Regions from separate parts of the Homo sapiens genome. Here region 2 is linked to region 1. Evidence: promoter capture Hi-C in 16 types of primary human blood cells and fetal thymus (Javierre and others, 2016). All regions are on one chromosome and are shown on one strand. Each heading gives the region's core, a stretch centred on a gene start or on the middle of the fragment in contact. The rest is flanking DNA. Distances are from core to core; before and after follow the strand shown.

Region 1 (3,287 bases), core at 365-2,864:
ACTCCGTAGGCAGAGGTTGCAGTGGGCCGAGATCACATCACTGCAACTCCAGCCTGGGCGACAAAGCAAGAAGCCACCTCAGGGGGAAAAAAAAGACTAAGGCATTGTACTTATAAAGACTTGCATATACAATCAGTGCTTAATAAATGGTAGCTTTAATTTTTAACATCCCATTTGCCAAGTTAAGAAGCTGATTATTTTGGTATTCCTCAGTTTCCAAGGAAGCTTTTGTCTTCATATTTAGTACTCTATACCCATTCATCCATTATTATTTCATATTTATTTCAGCCCATTGTCCACAGAACACAACCGTTTAGTATATTGCTGTTTGTCCTAGATAAAATCATTAAAATGTTGAGTTCTCCTTTCATTTATAATGCCTTTATTACTATAAAATATAGGTCATCAAGCAGGACTGCATTAAAAGTAATAATCAGTAAAACTGATATAATTCATTCTTCCTGTCTAGTAACTTAAATCTACTGTACTTATGAGTACCACTGGGCTTTATTTTATTATGAAATATGTTAATTTCTTTAAAAAACATTTTCTCATGACACTGCTAAAGCTGAGCTTCTTCTTTGATACTTCTTCGCGAGATTTATGTTGAATCTTCTCTGTTGCACTTTTATAGTCACAGAAATACAACTTTCTCAGGCAGGTCAAGACAGGCCTCCCACCCCTACCCCAGAATAAGGAAAATGAGATGGGAAGGAGAGAGAAGTAAACGCGATCAATCTAATGGAAGACAATTGGCAGCTGCTGTTTTGTTTTGCCCAAGACAGGTGATCTAAATTCCATCTATCTACCACTTTAAATTCACTCTAAGGGGAAAGATAAAAGATTAGGTTAAACAACCCTCACCCACATTTATTTTAAAATGTAACAAAGGCCAGCCATGGCGGTGCATGCCTGTAATCCCAGCTACGCGGGAGGCTGAGGCAGGAGAATCCCTTGAACCCGGGAGGCGGAGGTTGCAGTGAGCCGAGATCACACCGCTGCACTCCTGCCTGGGTGACAGAGCGAGACTCTAAAAGAAAAACGTAGCAAAAGTAGCTTCAAATATTTTTATAAATATTAAAGTAGGAGGCGGAGCAAAACGTGTCTAGTAAAACTACAGAAGGAAAAACCCAGTCTTCCGGCAGATGGAGCGGAAAGGGAAAGAAATCCAATCACCATATTAAAGCAGTTGTCCAGTTTAATTAGTAGTGGGAAGAAGGGAAAAATACAGAAAACAAAGGGCGAAGGAGAAGGAAAAGGGAAGAAGCAAGGGGAAAAGAAATAAAACAAAGGAAATGTCCAATAAAGACCAGGAAGGAAGGTCCGCAGGTGGAGACGTGCGTGAGGGCAGGGAGAGAAGGGTAGGAAGAGGGAACGAGAGCGGCACGAAGGCCTGGGATTAGAGAGCGGTGGGAAAAGGGTAGTGGGCCTGGTGAGGGGAGCAGGAGCCAGGCCGGCAAGGGGCAGGCCATCTTACCGAAGCTGTGATGAATGATTCTCCACCCACCAGGTCTTCCCTTATTGAGGTGGAAGCGGTGGCGACGGCTGGCTGGTCCATGGTGGCCTCCTCTCTCTCTAGGCTGAACCTGAGCTCCGGTTGCTAGGAGGCGGGTGTGGCCCGTGGGCTCCCGAGCGCGCGCGCCTGGGACCGCTCCGGGGGACCCGCCAGGTTTGTCTTTAGTGCTGCAGGGAAGGGAAGCGGGCACGCACTTTGAGGTCCCGCGCGAAGAACTGCGCAGAGGAAAACCCTCGAAAAGAGACGGTTATGAAAGCTTGTGAGAAGAAAATCTAGAGGGCTCTGGAGTTGCTAGAGAGCCCTCGGGTAAGGATCTGCGAAAAGGGAGGCTTGTTAAGGGCTTGAGCGTACCCACAATCTCCATTAGTTCCCTTCCAATCCACCACCAATCGCACACCCCAGACAGGGAGGCAGTGTGCTTGGTAGGCATACTTAAGAGAAATCTGCCTTAGCACCCACTTTCTAAGATTGTTTCTAAGCTCCTCCAAATAGAAACTCTGGGGCTGACTTCTCTTGCTTCTGACTTGCAGAGTGGAGTGAGCACCAGACACAGCCGGTTTCACTAGCTGTGAAACCACAGACCACCCCATTCTTCTCAGTATAGACCCTTTTTATTGTCAGCCTCTCTAGGCTGTAGCTTCTTCTTAACCTAGGAACATTCTCACCTTTAAAAACAAACCCTCCACAACCTTAATTTCATTTTATACAGTACCTACTGTATTCCAGGGACTTCACACACATTAGTCTCATTTAATCTTCATACCAACCCTACAAAGTAGGTATTAGTTTCATTTTCTGGATGAGGAAACAAAGGTTTCCTTGGACGTTTAGCACAGTTCACTCAGCATCACACACAAATGGCAGAACCAGAATTAAAATCCAGACCTGACTCTAGAGCTCCACTGCCCTATACCATGAAGTTTCTGCTTCCCTTTACAAACTTTCAAGAGTAATATGGACTCTTTTCTCACTTCCCATACTTTCCTTAAAACATCTTAATCTGGCCTGCACACAGCTTTTAATTAAAATTGCACCTGAACTCACCAGGGATCCAAGTGCCAAATCCAGTGGGGATTTTCAGCTCTTATGAAACTTGGCCTTCAATTTTCATTGCTGCATTGATTATTCCCTCATTCTTGAATCACTCTCCTCCCTTGACTACCAGGACTTGGACGCTGGTTGCATATAATGACTTATTCTGTGCTTATTTCCTTGTCTATAGAGAAGGGGATAATAAAATTGGTACCTATCCACATAGGTTATAAAAAAGATTAACTCGAACTGTTCACAACCATGTCTGGCACAGTGCAGTCAGTAAATGTGAGCTGTCATTACCTTTAGGACAAAAGCAACATTTACAATCCAGTCTCTCGCTTCTCTCTTTTTTTTTGAAACGAAGTCTCACTCTGTTGCCCAGGCTGGAGTGCAGTGGCGCGATCTCACTACAACCTCGGCCGCCCGCCACCATGCCAGCTAATTTTTGTATTTTTAGTAGAGACGGGGTTTCACCATATTTGTCAGGCTGGTCTCGAACTCCTGACCTCATGATCCACCCACCTCGGTCCCCCAAAGTGTTGGGATTACAGGTTGAGCCACCACACCCGGCCACTTCTCTTATTAGGATGGCATGCTCTGCTGTATCATGCTTGCAAAAACCCCAAACATGCCATCTTCACATTTCTATTTGTCTCCACATATGCTAGCTCTTCTGCATGAAATGCTATTCTTTTCTTTGACCACCTGGAAAATCTCAAGGGTCAGCTCCTCTGAG
Region 2 (2,905 bases), core at 311-2,810, 150 kb before region 1:
TTTTGAGAATGCGGTTGATCAGGGCCTTGGACTTGTTGCCCAGGGAGCATGTTCTTTGCAGAGAAGCAGCACCCAGGGCCTGATGGGAGAAGCCTGGCCTTGTGTTTTGCTTCAGTTCTTTTATAAGCAGAGCCAGCCCAGGGTCTCTTATGGCACGGATGAGGCTATTGGGCACTTCCTCGGAGGTACCTGGAGGCACAGAAGGAGCCAGGAGTGAAGTCAGAATGTCTGGGCTCTAATTTAGGTCCCAACCCCCTGTCTTGTATGCATTGGAAAGCTTACCTGGCCTCCCTTAGTCTTCTCATCTGTAAAATAGGCTGAGAGTACACAGAAGATTATTGTGAGCATTGTGAGATGCCGTACAGAACATGCTCCACATGGTAGTTTCCTTTCCTTCTCTTAGACTGGAGCCCTGTTTATGTCCAGGGTTAGAGAGGAGAAACAGGGCTGGGCAGAGGGAGAGGTTAGTGCTGCCTGTGGCCCTGCAGCCACCAAAGGATCAGGACTAGTCTTGTATCTTACTAGGTTGGAAAAAGCTGGCAGAGGAGCCCCCAGGCAGCTAGAGCTCAGGCAAGCAGCAGCAGTCCCAGACTGGCCGACTGAGGGAATGGGGGGTGGTTCAGCCTCAGCTCCCTGGGACCTTATGCAAGGTAGTTCATCTTCTGGGGCTCAGTGTCCTCATCTGCAGAGGGTGGGGGGTGGTCAGTGGTTTCATCCCTGCCCAGGGTTACTGTGAGGCCAGATGAGACGGTGGATGTGACAATTCAGCTTCTAAAGGAGTAATGCAGGCCGGGAGCGGTGGCTCACGCCTGTAATCCCAGCACTTTGGGAGGCCGAGGCGGGCGGATCACTTGAGGTCAGGGGTTCAAGACCAACCTAGCCAACATGGTGAAGCCCCGTCTCTACTAGAAATACAAAAAAATTAGCCAGGCGTGGTGGTGGGTGCCTGTAATCCCAACTACTTGGGAGGCTGAGGCAGGAAAATTGCTTGAACCCAGGAGGCGGAGGTTGCAGTGAGCCGAGACCACACCACTGCTCTCCAACCTGGGCAACAAGAGCGAGACTCTGTCTCAAAAAAAAAAAAAAAAAAAAGAGTAATGCATGTCACACGCATAGGGCTGGCTGTTTGACCAAGAGTAGTCCCTGCCTTGGGTTTCTCATGGGCCAGCCTGCCTGAGGCCTTTCCCTAAGGTCCCATGTTTGCTTCATGGATACTTGGTCAAAGACCAGAAATGTGTTATGCTAGCAGTGCTGAGCTGTTGGGTGATGGGTGTATGGGGACTAGCGTTGTTTCTTTGGCTTCTCCTCTTCTGACCTGCCAGAAGGCTTGCAGTGAATGTTCTTTAATTGAGGAGGGGCTACCCTAGGAGAACAGCCGGAAGGACAAAGGCTAGGAGCAGGACAACTACACAAGCCCTAGGTTTAAATCCTGGGATTAAATGCATGGATTAAACGGAGCAGTGCATCCCCAGCGCTGGGCAGCCTTGGGGTGGGTGTGGGGGTTATGGCAGTGCACACTAGGCAGGGAGAAACCAGAGGAGAACATTCTGCCATTATTCTAAGAACAGTGAGGAAGAGACGGTGAGAAGATTTAATGTTCATGTATTACTTTAAGGGTCACAAGTGCATTCACATCTGTTACTGCATTTGATCTAGAGGATTTTCTAATGAAAGAAAGCAGGATTCTGAGGCCACTTCAATGGTGGAAGGGAAAGAGTGTGGCTGGGACTAGGTCAGAGCTACTCCCAGAGCATGGGGGTACACCATGTGGCCTGAGGGCAGTGAGCCAGGGAGGAGGGAGCAGGACAGCTGGGGGTGCTGGGAAGGAACTGATGCTCCCATAGTGTCTGAGGCCCTGGCCTCAGAGGCTAGCCCTGGCCCCTGAGCTGCACATTAATTCTGTTCTGCTGTGGCTTACCCACCAGCCCCCATGCCTGCCTTTTCTCTGTCCCATTTCCCCCTACCCCTCCCTGTTGCCATGGTTACACACACAGGCACTGCCCAGCAACCACCAGGAATATTTCACTTCGGCCCTGCCCCAAAGCCATAGTAACCACTCAGCCCACTTCTGCTTCTGGCTGGGGAATCACAGCCCTCTCTTGCACAGGCCCCAGTTCGCACCAGTCCCTAGGACCCCCAGGGAGCCTTCCTGGCTGCCTGCCTATTGAGGGCCTATCACCAGCCTGAGGATTTGTGCTGCTGCTGCTGCCGCTGCTGCTAGTATGCTCCTCTCTTCTGTTCCTATTCTTCTGACCTAATTAACGCCCGGTTCTGAAAATCCACCCCTCCCTCTGCCAGACACAAATTCAGACACTGTTCTCTTAAAGGTCAAGGTCTAGGGTGGACAGGGGGAGGTTTCCACTCCAGGCCCAGAGTCTTTCTCTCCTGAGTGTCACACCCTGCAGGTTGAGTCAAGTTCTGTGCGTGAGGCTGTGCCTGGGGCCAGGAGTCTAGCCATGAGCAAGAACTGGTGAACCAGACGGGGGCATGTGAGCTGAGGCATGGGCTGGGTTGGGGGAGGACAGGAGAGGCCTGACCTCTCCTGGTGAGATGAGTTAGGGATGGTGCTGTAAGAGGGTGGTCCTGAATGGGGTTGTGAGGAGGTAGAAGGTGTCCAGGTTGATAGAGGGAACTGCAGCATGACCGAAGATGGGCCATGGTGACTGTAGGGACCAGCAAGGGGTTCCATGTCACTGGAGAGAAGCCCGCCAGTTAGGCTGCCCCAGAAAGGAGTTTAGATTTTATCCTGATGGCCATAGTGATGGCTCGCAGCCCACTATCCCCTGAACAAGATTGGTCTGCACAGACAGGCAGGAGGGTCCCCAGACCCTGGATGTGCCCAGCCAAGCTTCTTCCCACCCCTGCAGACTGCCTGGCTCCACCCGCTCCCATCATAACCTCTTGC

The links. Contacts are between HindIII fragments. The CHiCAGO score rates a contact against its expected background, and 5 or more counts as called.
Region 2: a fragment that was not itself captured here is called in contact with the fragment with the promoter of STPG4 in region 1 in 1 of 17 cell types (monocytes); the score reaches 5.2 in monocytes.

Annotation. Positions count from the first base shown.
Region 1 is chr2:47,153,694-47,156,980 of GRCh38, forward strand. It overlaps STPG4 (sperm-tail PG-rich repeat containing 4), which reads right to left and starts at 1,615. Exons shown (of 7, transcript NM_001163561.2): 1 at 1,478-1,615. The coding sequence starts at 1,558. RefSeq lists an enhancer at 2,133-2,292. The HindIII fragment of the contact is 1,547 bases long and covers 224-1,770 here.
Region 2 is chr2:47,000,788-47,003,692 of GRCh38, forward strand. The region is part of intron 8 of TTC7A (tetratricopeptide repeat domain 7A); the gene reads left to right. Among named protein-coding and RNA genes, the nearest start is that of TTC7A, 61 kb to the left of the region's middle. RefSeq lists a silencer at 1,786-1,951. The HindIII fragment of the contact is 2,571 bases long and covers 276-2,846 here.